Linked DNA regions of Homo sapiens: region 2 is linked to region 1. Evidence: promoter capture Hi-C in 16 types of primary human blood cells and fetal thymus (Javierre and others, 2016). All regions are on one chromosome and are shown on one strand. The core of a region is centred on a gene start or on the middle of the fragment in contact, and the rest is flanking DNA. Distances in the headings are between cores, read along the strand shown. Region 1 holds the start of MFSD6 (major facilitator superfamily domain containing 6). Region 2 overlaps NABP1 (nucleic acid binding protein 1).

What was found. Contacts are between HindIII fragments. The CHiCAGO score rates a contact against its expected background, and 5 or more counts as called.
Region 2: a fragment that was not itself captured here is called in contact with the fragment with the promoter of MFSD6 in region 1 in 2 of 17 cell types (fetal thymus and total CD8 T cells); the score reaches 5.1 in fetal thymus.

The regions. Positions count from the first base shown.
Region 1 is chr2:190,404,124-190,411,599 of GRCh38, forward strand. MFSD6 (major facilitator superfamily domain containing 6) reads left to right here and starts at 4,232. Exons shown (of 8, transcript NM_017694.4): 1 at 4,232-4,380. RefSeq lists an enhancer at 3,503-3,552 and a silencer at 3,813-4,852. The HindIII fragment of the contact is 2,674 bases long and covers 2,992-5,665 here.
Region 2 is chr2:191,680,045-191,687,520 of GRCh38, forward strand. NABP1 (nucleic acid binding protein 1) reads left to right here. Exons shown (of 6, transcript NM_001031716.5): 3 at 1,902-1,973; 4 at 3,685-3,760; 5 at 4,186-4,252; 6 at 5,555-6,899. The coding sequence ends at 5,724. LOC124900605 (a long non-coding RNA gene) reads left to right here and starts at 7,242. Exons shown (of 3, transcript XR_007088697.1): 1 at 7,242-7,476. RefSeq lists an enhancer at 1-462. The HindIII fragment of the contact is 198 bases long and covers 1,391-1,588 here.

The DNA of each region.
Region 1 (7,476 bases), core at 2,982-5,481:
TGTTGAACAACATAGTGTTTCCCCCTGTCTTTAAGGAGCTTGCAATCTAGCATAGAAGTTAAACAAATGATTACAATAGTATATGATAGATGCCATGATAGAGAAGGCACATGGTAAACGAAGCCACCGAGGGGCGATAAAGCCAGTCTATGGAGGACATAATGCTTTGTCTAGGATATGGAGGAGAGAGAGAGTGCAAACCACTTACACCTGCTTGAAACAACTCTTCTATAGTCTTCAGTGACAACATCCTCCTGAATTGCCTTCTACTTCTGACTGATCCTTCCTGGTTTTCTCTCCTATACCAACTGGTAAATGTTGGCCCTTCTCTGGGCTCTCTGAGTCTATTCTCTTCCTGAGTAATCCCCTTCAGTCCAATGACTGTAAATAGTACCTCAATACTGATGACTGCCAAATCCAGCCCTTTCTTCTGGGCTGTGGACTCAAGTTTAATTGCCTACTTCACAGCTCCACCTGCAAGGCTCACAAGCATCTCAAACTCACTGAGTCAAATGTGAATTCTTCCTTTTTTCCTTCCAGCCTGCTCCTCCCACAGTCTCCTCCCTCTCAGTAAAGGTTATCACAATCTTCCCTAGTTGCTCAAGCCAGAAACCTGTGAGTCATTCTTAACACCTCCTTTCCCTTGCCTCCCACATGCAACATATCACCAAGTATGCTCATATACTTCCCCAAACTCTCAAATCTATCTGTTTCTCTCCATCCCAGCCACTACCACTGTGGTCCATGCCACTGTTAACCTTTCTCCTTGCTACTGGTTACAGTTACTTTTTTTTTTTTTTCTTTGAGACAGGGTCTCACTCTGTCACCCAGGTTGGGGTACAGAGGTGTAATCATGGCTCACTGCTAAGGTTGGGAGATTGACCTCTCGGGCTCTGTCAATCTTCCTACCTTAGCCTCCCTAGTAGCTGGGACTATAGGCATGCCACCACACCTGGCTAATCTTTGTACTTTTTGAGAGATGAGGTTTGCCATGTTGCCCAGGTTAGTCTCAAACTCCTGGGCTCAAGTGATTCGCCCACCTTGGCCTCCCAAAGTGTTGGGATTACACGCATGAGCCACTACGCCCAACACCAAAAGAATCTTTACAAACACCTTACCATGTAATTTCTTTGCTGTCTCATAGGATTGTGCAACACCATGAGGCACCCTTCACATTGTATTGTACCTCCTAGCTGTGCAACCAGCCAACATTGCTCCTCTCCTAAAACATAGTGAGACTCCACCTGTACAAAAAAAATTAAAAATTGGCTGGGTATGGTGGTATGCACCTGTAGTCCCAGCTACCTGGGAGGCTGAGGTGTGAGGATCCCTTGAGCCCAGGAGTTCGAGGTTACAGTAAGCTATGATCACACCACTGCACTCCAGCCTGAGTGACAGAGCAAGATCCTGTCGAAAAGAAAAGAAAAGAAAACAGATTACTTTGGTGGCAAAGTGAAAAGTTGATTGGATGAGAGAACATTTTGAGGCAGAGAGACCAGAGAAATTTTGCAGGCAAAGGAGAGATAACAGAGATTAGGATAGCACAGGGATGGAGAGAAGAGGACAGGTGCTAGAGATATTTGAAAAGGTAGAATCAAGAGTTTGGCATCTGACTGGATGTCATAGACAGAGTCATGGCCCGCTGTAGATGTCCATGTCTCAATCCCAGGAGCCTGTGAATATGCTTCATGGTAAAAGGGACTTTGATGATGGGATTAAGATTCTTGAAAGGAGGAGATTACGCTAGATGATGAAGGTGAACCCAATGTAATGAGGGTCAGAGTCAGAAAAGGCAATGTGAGGATTGTGGCTGAGGTTAGAGTGGTGTGCTTTGAAGATGGAGGAAGGGTCCATGAGCCAAAGTATGTGAGCAGCCCCTAGAAGTGGAAAAGGTAAAAGAAATGGGTTATTCTCTACAGCCTACAGAAAGAATACAGCCTTGTAGTCACCTTGGTTTTAGTTCACTAAAACCCATTTTGGACTCTTGACCTCCAGAATCGTAAGATAATAAATGTGTGTTTTAATCCACAAAGTTTACGATAACTTGTTACAGCAGCAATAGGTAACTAATACACTGGGCATGGGTATAAGGGTGAAAGGAGCATTGAGAAGAAGGGCCTTGTACAACTGGGTGGATGGCTGTTTGGGACCCCAGAGTCTGGGAACCCAGAAGCAAGAGTGAATGAGGGGCCGGGTGCAGTGGCTCACACCTGTAATCCCAGTACTTTGGGAGGCTGAAGTGGGGGGATCATTTGAGGTCAGGAGTTTGAGACCAGCTTGGCCAACACGGTGAGACCCCATCTCTACTAAAAATACAAAAATTAGCCAGACATGGTGGCACATGCCTGTAATCCCAGCTATTCAGGAGGCTGAGGTAGGAGAATCACTTGAACCCGGGAGGCAGAGGTTGCAGTGAGCTGAGATCACGCCACTGCAATCCGGCCTGGGCGACAGAGTGAGACTCCATCTTAAAAAAAAAAAACGAGTAGGGGAAGAACAGAAGGTAAAGAAACATTGACGTGGCACTTAGTGAGGTTGGGGTGCCTGTGACACATCCCACTGGACAACTGGCCATAAGGATCTGGCCCTCAGGAGAAAAGCTGACCCCGAGAGAGGGCTTTTGGAGCACCCTCAAATATTCTGTGATTGAAGCCAAGGAGTGAGAGAATTCGCAGAAACAAACAGAATCAGAAGAAAGGAAAGCCTAGAACAAAACCCAAGGAAAACTAAAACTCAAGTGGAGCAAAGGGGAGTGGCCAGAGAGGAAGAGGAAAACCCAAGACTTGTGGGTCACAGAAGGCAGAGGAGGGGAGAGTTTCAAGGAGGAAAATCCAACACTTACGGAGCACCAAAAGAAGAGAAGGGAAGAGTTTCAAGGAGGGGACCAGTGTCTCGTGTTCCTGACAGGAGAAAGAAATGCCTGGAGAAAGAAATGATTGAATATCTACGTCAATATTGAAAGTGGATTTAGCATGAGGCTACTATAGTTTAAGCTTCAGAGACCCTTCATAAGCTCAGGAAGGGGCCCTAGAAACTTCGTATTTGTAATTGTTTTATTCTTCCTAAAGAGGGACTCAAAATTCAGAAACTTCAGGGCCTATCAAATTCTTACCAGTATGATTTCACGGTTAAGAGCTTAAAGCCTGGAGACAAAAGAAGCCTGCTTTCCCTTTCGCTGTTTAGTAACTTTGGATGGGTCACATTAACTTTCAGCCTCGGCTTTCCTCAGTTGTAAAATGGGAATAACGTTTCCTACACCTATAGGGTTATAAGGCTCAAAGAGTACCTACACAGTGCCCCGTACATAATCGATGTTTATAAGCGTTAGCTACCATTGTCACTCTTGTCGTTGTTGCCGTTAGCTACCATTGTCACTCTTGTCGTTGTTGCCAGAACAAGACAATAAACTCCTTAAGAACAGGATGTGGCATCCCCCAAAGCCCATCACAGGCACACAGACATACTTGCCAAGTGAATACTCCACTCTCCCCCAACTCTCTGCGTGTTTAACTAGAAATACAACTTTAATTATATTCTTAGTGCGACACACACGGTTGGCTTTTCAGCAAGATGCCAGTAGCAGCTTCCTGAAAAAGGGTGCCTTCGTCTCAGTGTTCCCCCTTCTTGGTGAGCCCCGAAACTCACAGATCGTTTGTCTCCCGCACCCCGCCGGCTCCTCCCTCCCGGGTCAACCTGGGACAGACGCGGAGATAACGCACTGACAGCATTAGCATTGTGTGTGCCACTTAAAAGGCGCTCAAGGAATAAGGGATGTTAGTACATTTTCCCCCACATTTCCTGGCCCGCACTCATTGCCTGGGGGCTCAGCGGAAGTCGCTTGGGGGTGCGGGGGGGTGGAGGGTGCGGTAGGGATGGAGCCTCGCCCAGTGCTTTCGCCTCCTCAGCGTGCTCCCCGGGCCCGGCTGGGTTCAGGTGTCCCTCCGGGCCGCCGGGGCGGGCTGGAGGCCGGGAGCGGGCAGTCGACGCATCCGCCGCCGCCGCAGGAGGCGGAGCGCTGCACCTGGCGGCCGGTCCTCAGCGCCCGGCCCTGAAACGGGTCCAGCCGGTAGTGACCGGCGGCGGCGACTGTGAGGCCGGGGCCGGGGAGGAGGAGGAGCCGCAGCGGGAGAGAAGGTCGCGCCGGCGGGAGCGCTGGGCCCTCCGCCTCCGTCCTCCGTGGCCCCACCCGGTCCGCATCCCTCGCCTCGCCTCGCCGCGCCCCGCCCAGCCCGTCGCAGCCCCGGAGGAGCGCGCGAGCAGCCCGGGATGGTGCGCGCTGCCCCGACAGCCGCCGCCCCGGCGCCCCGAGCCGCCGCCCCGTGCTCCGGGGACAGGGCTCCCCGCGCCCCGCGCAGCTGAGCGCTGCCGCCGCCGCAGCAGGTGAGTCGGGCCCGGCTTGCGGAGAAGGGGCTCGCAGACCCGCCCTGGCCTCCCCCGCCCCGCACGGGCCCAGCCGGAGGGCGGGTAGGCACCTCAGCCGCGCACACCTGCTGCCGGGAAAGGGGCTTCGGGGCCGGGGCTCGGAGCCCAGCGTGCGCCGCTGTCTCCGCTCGGGCCTCGCTCGCCCGCCGCTCCCTCCCTCCCTCCCTCCCCCGGCTTCCGTGTCGGGTGTCATCTTTGTGGGGTGCTGGGGGAGGCTGCCGCCTGCGCCCCCAGCGCGCCCCGTGCTGGCAGCACTTCCGCAAACGTAACTGGAGTCGGGAAAACAAAGGCGCTGCCCAGGGAGCCCTCGCCGGGCGCCCACAGCTGCTGCCGCGGGTGGGGACGGAGGGTGAGCGCCGATGCCCGGGTCCTCCTCCGCCCGGGCCGACCCGCGCCCTCGCCATAAACATCCCTGGGAAAAAGGAGGAGGTGAGAACCTCCACACAGCCCCAGTGACAAGGACGCGGCCACTTGTGTGGCAGGAGGAGGAAATTGACAACGTCTGCCCTCCCAGGTTAATAAATACGGAAAAAAAAATACCTCTGCTCTGCCAGCCACCATCCTAGCAGACATCCCCCACCTCGTGCTTTACTTCCACTTGGTCTAACATGTCTCTGGAGCCCTTTTGAGATACTACTGGGGGTTGCTAGTCTTTCTGGGTCATATTTATTGCCCATAGAGCAATTTTCCTGCAAATTTAGGTAAGATGGTGGAAAAATACAAACGCAACTTTCCCCCTCGTTAATCCCATCCCCACATGGACAGACAGGTGGGTTAATTACCTTTATGCATTCGCAACCACGGACGTTTCTTTTCATCCCAAAAAGATTGAATAAGCACCTCACAGAACTACTGGAACATATAATACCTTGCTTATTAGTGTGCAAAAGACTTAAAGAGTTGGGGTTCTAATCCCAACTGGTATTTAAATAGATGTGTGTGCTTGGGCATGTCACATCTTCCTGAGCCCCAGTTTTCTCACATGGAAAAGAGGATGGTTGGATATTATAGTGGCCAAAATTTCCCCTAATCCTTCTAGAAGTCCATGATTTTCTAGAAATCTAACCTCTTAAGTATAGATGAATGTGAAGGGTGGGTGGACATACAGTTGACTAAAATATGTAATAAAAGGAGATGTGTACTTGGTAGGTCCTTTCCCCAAGATGTGGGCACTAGCCAGCTAAAAGTGTATGCATCTGTTTTAGCCTTGTTAAGTAAAAGGATAGGATCCTCCTCTTTGGGAAGCTTGGCTTTTGACACGTCAAGCTGCTAGCAGAGGTGCAGGATATGGTCAGCTGTTTAGTGATAGTCAGATGGCTTGTATTTATCACGAGGTGTAAGTAAAATTTAGGATTGCTTAGGGGAAGGATGGGACATTGTTAATGAGCCCAGTGCAGGATGCTCTGGGGAAACAGGAGGAGAGAACATCACTTCAATAATGCATTAAAGCTACTAAGTAGTTGTGTGTCCTTCATGTTTACAGCAGTTTATTTCTAAGGCACTTTCCATCTCTATACAAATAAATATAAAAGCGTGAAGGCAAATAAAACACAAAGACAAAAAGCAGAGTTCACAGGTATTTGGTGGTGTGAGTATTGGATCACCAATTCCATCATATATAGTGTCTGGACTATTAACAGTATTAAGGCATTTTTTTGGGTACTTATTATGTTCAAGACACCATTGTAAACATTTAGTATCTCAATCTCTGTAAGATAAATCTTTCCCCTAGTTCTGTGCATGACAAAAAGGAAGCTCAGAAGGGTTAAGCAACTTACACAAACCACATAATCAGTAAGAGGTAGAGTTAAATTTGACCTCATGTTTCTGGCTCCAAAGCCCAGGAAATTTCCACATGGTGTCCCTCCCTAATCAGAACCTATTAAGTCTCTCCACCTACGCAGATGTCTTCCTTAGCTTCGTGCCTTTGAAAATTAACTTGATTTCAATGTACATGTATTACTTATGTTAACATTTAGCCATGTAGGATAATTTATATATTTATTACGTATGTATATTAATGTGTGTATGTTTACCCTTTTGTCCTCACCAGTTGTAGATTGAAGGCAGTATGAAGCTGACAGGTTTCTTTGTTTTACTTCCTTTGACAGCAAATCTTAATTTGGCAATCTCATTATAGGGAAAGGAAGAAATGCAAAAAATGTGTGTCTGCTAGCTATTTTGCACATTGGCTGAAAAATCAAGATGCTGTATATTAAATGAAAAAAATGGCTGGGCAAGGTGGCTCATGCCTGTAATCCCAGCACTTTGGGAGGCCGAGGCAGGTGGATCACGAAGTCAGGAGTTCAAGACCAGCCTGGCCAAGATGGTGAAATCCCACCTGTAATAAAAATACAAAAATTAGCTGAGCGTGGTGGCGGGCGCCTGGAATCCCAGCTACTCAGGGGGCTGAGGTAGAGAATTGCTTGAATCCGGGAGGTGGAGGTTGCAGTGAGCCGAGATCGCGCCACTGCACTCCAGCCTGGGCAACAGAGCGAGACTCTATCTCAAAAAAAAGAAAAAAAAAAACTAGCTTCAGAAGAAATTTATATACATTTGTTTAAACCTGCATACAGGCACACATACGCCTTTTTGTCCCCAAACTGTTGACAGTAGTTTTTTTTTTTTTTTTTCAGACAGAGTCTCGCTCTGTCACCAGGCTGGAGTGCAGTGGCTCGATCTCGGCCTACTGCAACCTCTGCCTCCTGGGTTCAAACTATTCTCCTGCCTCAGCCTCCCGAGTAGCTGGGATTACAGGCACATGCCACCAGGCTCAGCTAATTTTTATTTTTTTAGTAGAGACGGGGTTTCATCATGTTGGCCAGGATGGTCTCCATCTCCTGACCTCATGATTCCCCTGCCTAGGCCTCCCAAAGTGCTGGGATTACAGGCATGAGCCACTGCGCCCAGCCGACAGTGGCTATCTTCAGGAAGTGAGACAAGATGGAGAAAAGAGGATGTTTTTGCTTTTTACCTTATAAAGTTATGTTTGGGCTTAAAATTTTGTTTTTGGAACAAGCATGTGTTCTCTTATTATATAAACTAAAAAGGAAA
Region 2 (7,476 bases), core at 240-2,739, 1.3 Mb after region 1:
AAGGCATCTACAATACCTTCATCCAAAAGAGTCAGTTGGCGGATAGGTGGCTTTAAAAAATACTAGAACTTTTTTTTTAAAAAATAGATTGCTTTTAGAAATTTACCAAATTTTTATCTTAGGAAGATAAAAGGGCAGAAAAGGATCTTAAAAACAGAATTTGGAAGCTTTTGAGATCAATAAAATTGTAATAATTTATCATTAACTGCAGGGAAAGTGGTGGAGATTGATGTTGGCCTAATAAGTAGAATCTTAGAAGTATTGGAAAGCACTGAGAGTAGGAGCTTAGAGCTCCTTGGTGTTACCTTGCAGGCTTACAACATCTTCAGGAAGTGAGGTAAAGTGTCATCAAAGCAGGAAGTGAGAGTCAGGACTTAGACATTTTCTTCTCATACACTGACTCATGACAGTAATTTAAACTTCCACATCTTTAAAAAACAAAAGAGAATTCCTTCTTAGGGAAGTATGGTGAGGATTGATTAGTATAATTGGAGTTTTTGGCTCCCCAAATATTTTTCACCCAATGATTGAAAGTATTTTTTACGCTAAAAACGGCATCTTATTTCAAGTATTTCATGTTCTGTAGTGACAGTCATAGGTGTTTCCATCAAAAAAATTATTGGAAAATTAAACTTATTAGTTAGGTACTATAGAATTTTAAGGGGAACAATTACCTGGGAGTACAATTTAAACGAAAATTAAAAACTATAGAAACTCTATTTACTACTTCAGTATGACCTTGAGAAGTTACTACACCTCATACTTCAGCTTCCTCTTCTGTGAAATGGGAATAATTATACCTTATTTACCAAAACAACACACTCAGCTTGGAGTCTGGCTCATTCTAAGGCCCTTAAATTCTGGTTGAATCTAAGAAAAGTAGCTTTTGAAGAAAAACATACCTAACATCTAAATAATGGTTCAAATATCAACATGTTTATCAGAATACCCTGAAAACTTACCTCAGTGTTCTCATTTCTTAAAGTGAATGTTAAATATTTTAATTGTAACCAAATTTTTTCTCAAAATATGGGTTAATTTTTATTTTAGTAAGGTGAAATGTTAATGCACTGTATCCTAAGCCACTCTTTGTATAACTTAAGAGTGGTGAATGGTGTCTTTAATAAATAACCCTTTAATTAAAGTAAAGAGAACTGTATAGTAAGTTAAAGTCATGAAGTTACCATAGTAGTTGTACAGAGAACCATTGAGAACCAAACCTTGGATTGATTTTATAATATTAATTTACCTTTTTCTTAGATATCTAGGATTATTTTATGTAGTGATGCTGTCTGCTTTCAAAATTGTTCGGAGTAAACATTTGCCAGTTTGTTTACTACAAACCCAGCATGGTATTAAAAATCACATGTTTGGAAAGGCAGATAGGTGAAGCTTTGTGACCTTAGTGTTTTTTTTAGCACTTTGAAATTCTACCAGATCTTCGGTAGCTTAGGAATCCTGTGTCTTTTATGGAGGCAGAAGGAAAACTGTTATATCATTATTTGACTAGACTGTAAATGAAACATTAGGATGATTTTACATATCTTGTGGCTGAAAAATAGTTTCTGTTTAAATTTCTGCAATTAAAAGCTTTTGTTTTGTTAATTGACTAAAGATGTGATCATTGGGTATAATAATACTGGCTTTGCGAAAAGACTTATTTTCCAGAATTTGTTATGATTTAGATAATTATGTCAAAATTCGACAGAATTTTTGTATTCTTTTGTAAATAGCAAGTTATCAAAGTTAGATTTATTGTATTTGATTTACTATGGTGGATAGAGAGGGCTTGATCCTCACTTCTACCTTAATACAAAAAATATATAGTGTGAAGATTTACTTGATTTAAATAGAAGAAAATAAATATATTTCTAAAGAATTAATGTTTCTTTTCTCTCTAGGTATGCATCCATGTGGAAAGGATGTCTGACACTTTATACTGGAAGGGGTGGTGAACTTCAAAAAATTGGGGAGTAAGTATTAAAATGCATTTTGTATAATTGCATATATTATAAATAATATCTACGGAATGATTGGTAGGTATGAATTGTAAACCTCTTTGGCTTTTTTGACTAGTAAACTGAATGTCTTTGGTAGCTTAATTGAAAAAATAACTTCGTGTATACAAATTTAACACTTGTCAGTACTGTTTTCTGTGGTTAAAAGTGTCAATTTTTCCTGGCAAAGAGCAGTAGAAGAAGCTGCAGTTGAGACCAGCCCTAGTGGAAGCATTTCTGTAGGTTTTAGAAATGTGCATTTTTTAGGTGTCACAAGAGCCATTTGAAGTAGATTCTCTTTTGTAGTGATTCACCATATACGAAGCTAGTGATTCACCAAGTTTCAGGCCATAAGTTTAAATTTTCTTTTTCTATGGTTATGGGTGAATATGTACTCATGTTAAAAAGGACTTGCAGCAACGAAAACTGAAGTCCTCTATTTATCCACAGTCTAGGTGCGGTGCAGGCAGCCGCAATGCGAGATTCCATACACTACTACCCTGGTAATGATCTCCACCCTGACCTGGAGGAGCCATCCTCTCTAGGGGTGTAAGGTAATTCAGCCTCCATGTTAGCCTAGACATTGGGTTGTATTCATAAAGTATGGTACAGGCAATGAGCCAAATCATCAGTCCATTCTGTTTGGTTAATGCTCTGCCATCTACTTAATGCCTGTCAAATTGGAAGATATTTAAAAAGAGAAGCCACAAATGGCACCAGATAAAAAAGGAAAACTGTTTGCCACTGAGGGAATAAGATGCTTATTTGGAGAACCTGTGGTTAATAATGAAGGAAAAGAAATGATCATGCTAGCTTTTAAAGATCAGAAACACTTAACGCTTTGCCTTTGTTAGAAGGGAAGTTAGGATTCACTTAGAGTAGCATTAATAGAGTTATGTGTTATGAAAGGTCTTAGTGTCTGTTACTGAAAGGTTCAGGATTCTGTCCTGACCTTCATGTATTCATACAGAGGTGTTGATAATAATGGAGGTCAGTTACGTGAAAAACCGTTAGAGGTCACTCATTTCTTAATGACTGCTCTTTGTCAGGGTCAGTCGAGGATTTACCAAAACTGGTTCTGATTTGTCTTCAGTATGGTGAGGAGTAATAAAATGCTTCTTTGTAATGTTAGTACACATTATATGGTCAACTTACAGGAAGCACTTGGATAAACTGGTGGCTATGTAGCCTGTTGTTATTATTTATTGCCTAGAAACCACTCTTAACCCTAAATGATTATCTTTGCAGATCCACAGTGATCGATCAAAAGAGGGACTGAATGGGAGTGGGTGAATGGATCGGTGCAAATCCATTACCACTGCTGGAGAAACCACCCTGGAACCCTAAACATGGTTCACTCTCATGTTATTTTTCCTTTGATCAGCTTTTGTGGAAAAACAGGACAGAGATGTTTTTGTGTCCTTGATTTTTGATGTGATTTTTTTTTCAGCACTAAAGAAGAATTTAAATACAAAATAGAATGTTATATATCTTGTAGACAGTCAAATATTTGATGTTTTATGGGACATAATCATTTGGGAAGTTTTTGTTGTAAATGAAGAGTTAGTTTGTTGCTATTAATTTGTTTGACACATAAGTTCATTCCTAAAAGTTAGAGATGTTACATAAAGAAGGGTTGAGGACTTTATTTCAGAAGTCATTTAATTTTTTCTTTATTTTCTTTCAGATTTTGTATGGTTTATTCAGAAGTGCCAAATTTCAGTGAACCCAACCCAGATTATCGAGGACAGCAGAACAAAGGGGTAATTGTGTAGTATACTTTTATGATTAGGCTAATTTTGACTGTGTTATAATTCTATGATTAGGCTAGCCCTGTTGATACTTAGTATAAAGAAGATAATTTTTAAAAGGATACTTAATTTTTATTGTATGTTTTGTGAGGATATGTATCTGAGGTGTCATCTACTAGATATATGTGCCATTTTGCACTTTGTGGTGTGCTGAGTAATTATCAGGAAATAGGATGTAACAGAGCTCTGAAAGGTTTGGGAAACGTTTCTTAACATTATAACCTTTAATGACCTAGGAAAAATCTTTAAAAAATTTGTTAATTAAAAAAAAAAAAAAAGCCAAACCCAAAACTTTAAAAAAGAAAGGATATAATAATGTTGTAATAATATAATTGTGTTTTTATTCTCGTTTGGTTAAATTAAAAACTTTTTTTTAGGCACAGAGTGAACAGAAGAATAATTCCATGAATAGTAATATGGGTACAGGTACATTTGGACCAGTGGGTAAGATTTTGTTTGTGTGTTTCATTTGTGATCAGGTATAAGAATGAAGAGAGCTGTAAAGATTCACGTGAAAAGCAACGTCTTTAGGCATAAATTAGTGATAAAGGTGAACTACCAGTAAACAGGGAATCCCCAAAGGGCTGATTTTCTAGAAAGTTGATAAACTTAAGCCAGTTTATTGAGAATTCTAAGTTTTTGTGATGTCCGTGAAGAGATACCATGCTATTTTTTTTTTATTGATTCCTATAAAATTTCTATAATCTAGTGATTACTTATAGTAGATGCAGAATTACTGGTTATTTTGGTGCACTGAAAGCGTTTTATCTTTAGAGTCATAGTTCACCTTAATTTTTCACATACAAGTAGCTGCTGCTTTAAAAGATGAGCTGAGCCGTTTAAAGGCTAGTGACCCTCAGATGTCATTTAACATGACCCCCAGACATCATGTTCATGATCCTTGTAGCTCTGTTAAAGGTCTTCTGAAGTCTTTTTTCTTAAATATATGAGGAAAAGTCAGTCTTTTGTGATTAGAGTTCATTAGGATGGCTCATGTTTTGGTTTTGTTTTGTTTTTGAGACAGGGTCTTACGCTGTTGCCCAGACTGGAGTGCAGTGGCGTGATCTTGGCTCATCGCAACCTCCACCTCGCAGGCTCAAGTGATTCTCCTGCCTCAGCCTCCCAAGTAGCTGGGATTACAGATGTGCACCACTACCACCCAGCTAATTTTTATATTTTTAATAGAGATGGGATTTCACCATATGGGCCAGGCTAGTCTCGAACTCCTGACCTCAAATGATCCACCTGCCTCGGCGTCCTAAAGTGCTGGGATTACATACAGGCGTGAGCCACTGAACCTGGCCAGCTCATGTTTTATTTGACTCGAAGGCTACATGTCTTGGCATTGCTGATCACATTGTGGGAAACGCTGCCTTTGCCTTTAAAAAGTTAGAATAACATTGTCTGTTTTGAGATATTAATCATATTTGAGCCAAATTCCAATATTCACTATTTTGCCCTTTCTTTTTCTTTTATAGTGTAGGCAATGCATTTTTTTACTCTATTAATTTCTAATTTTGATGCCCAAGTTGGCTTTTTTCTCTCTATTAATACAGCATCAAGTTAGCATATTTATAGCAATACATTTGGAAAAACTTAGAGCCCACATTGTTTTTTTTTTCTGTATAAAAATAAAAGTGTGTGCTTTAATATTTTTAAGCATTAATAACATGTTGGCACTTAAGATAGTTCTACTTCTATAGACTACCTCTGAAAATAGTGATGAATTTTTGTATTCTTTTTTAGGAAATGGTGTTCACACTGGCCCTGAATCAAGGGAACACCAGTTTTCACATGCTGGCAGAAGCAATGGCCGGGGACTTATAAATCCACAACTACAAGGAACAGCTAGTAATCAAACAGTGATGACCACAATAAGTAATGGCAGGGACCCTCGGAGAGCCTTTAAAAGATGACCTATGCTAAATACTCATGTGTAGTTTTTATACTACATGCCCTACTTGAACACTTATTGCACTTTTATTTATTGTTAACTGTGAAAAGTACGTCCTTTATTGGGTTTCCTTTTATATTCTTGGTTTGTTAAGAAGAATGGTTTGTTTTTATAGCAAAACTGTTAAGCTGCTCGAGTCTCCTGTTGAAGAATGGGAACACTGAAAAGTAGGGGCATTTATTTTTAGAGTAAAAAGATTATTGGATAGCCTTTAAAAAACCTGCACCCATTTCATGGGTGAGTTACTTAAGACATCAGCTTTATAGCCTCTATGAGTCTATCTTCTGTATAAGTTTTGTAATATTTAACATAAGGCTTAATGGGAGATGTTCTTTTGTCTTGTATTCAGATATTGCCAACTAAAGCAATAACCATCAAAAAACACAAGAACTTGTCAATGCTAGCAGTAATTTTTGAGTGTTTGTGGCTCTCGGAATGATTGACTTCGTTCAGTGACTACTATTAAGATTTTCCAAGGACTGACTCATCCCAAATTTTTGTTGTATTACCAAAAAAACAGATTCCTTATCAGAATTTGGAATAGAATGTGATCTCTATTGCAACAAGTAATTTTAAAAGAAAGCTACATTTATTTTAGAGTAGTGCTCCTAACATGTATTATCAACTTTGTGGATTACATTGGAGGAAAATTTAAAACTGGGGCCTTGAATATTTATTTTTTGAAACTACCATGTTAAATACTGAAGTATAATTTGGGGGAGTTATAAAGTTATGATAAACATTCATCTGATTATTTTAAACAATAGTTGTGGTAGATAAACATACTGGAGGTGAGTCAAATTGAATTCATATAGTAACATGCAGTCTGAAGTCCTAGTTACTTAATAGGTACTCAGCCTGGAGTGAAAATCCTGGGTACTGACTTTGAGAGGAGTGAGTGTGCATGTTGTCAAAGTTTCTGAACACAGTTCACATAGCCTTATTAGCAAAAGTTTTAAGAAATGGCTCTATCAAAGAAGCAATTGCAGCTTTATTCAGAAATATAAAAGTGGAATTTATGTACATGTCATAAGTGGTACCCACTTCCCCTTTTTACTGTAGGGTGGATAACTCTTAGGATTTAACTCTTTGAATATTATCTCTTGAATAAAGCATGTGTTAATGTTAACAAACCTACGTAATTTTTGCCCTTTCAATGACTTACAGTGGAGAGCCAGTACATCTTAACTACTGTTGTAGTGATGGTATCAACCTCATGGTTACTTAGCTCTGCATTTGTTGCTTTGTTTTTTTTCCACTTCAAATCACAAAATAAGTAGATTTTGTTTTCTGAAAACTCCATAGCATTTGAATACAAAAAGTTGTGCCAGATTGTTTGCCCTAATTCACTGTGTTTAACAAATATTTCAGTACACACTATGTATTAGGCACTGTGTGGAAAGTGTTAAGGGGTAGACAAAATACCGAATAATCTCCACAAGTTTATTTGTGGTCTATAGTACTTTTGTAACTGGGGTTACAAAAATTATAGAAATTTTTTTCCTTTGTTCATATGCATATTCATGATTATAATTTGGCTTTGTTTGTGATTAATGTTTTCTTAAGATTTTCACATTATAGAATACCTCAAAAGAAGTTGTCTAAGGACTGGGATAGAGAGTATGTTTCATAAAATTGTAGATGTTTAGAATTTTTAAAAACCCTACAAATTAGTATATGATTGTTTTATATAAGTAAGATAGGAGCAACACTT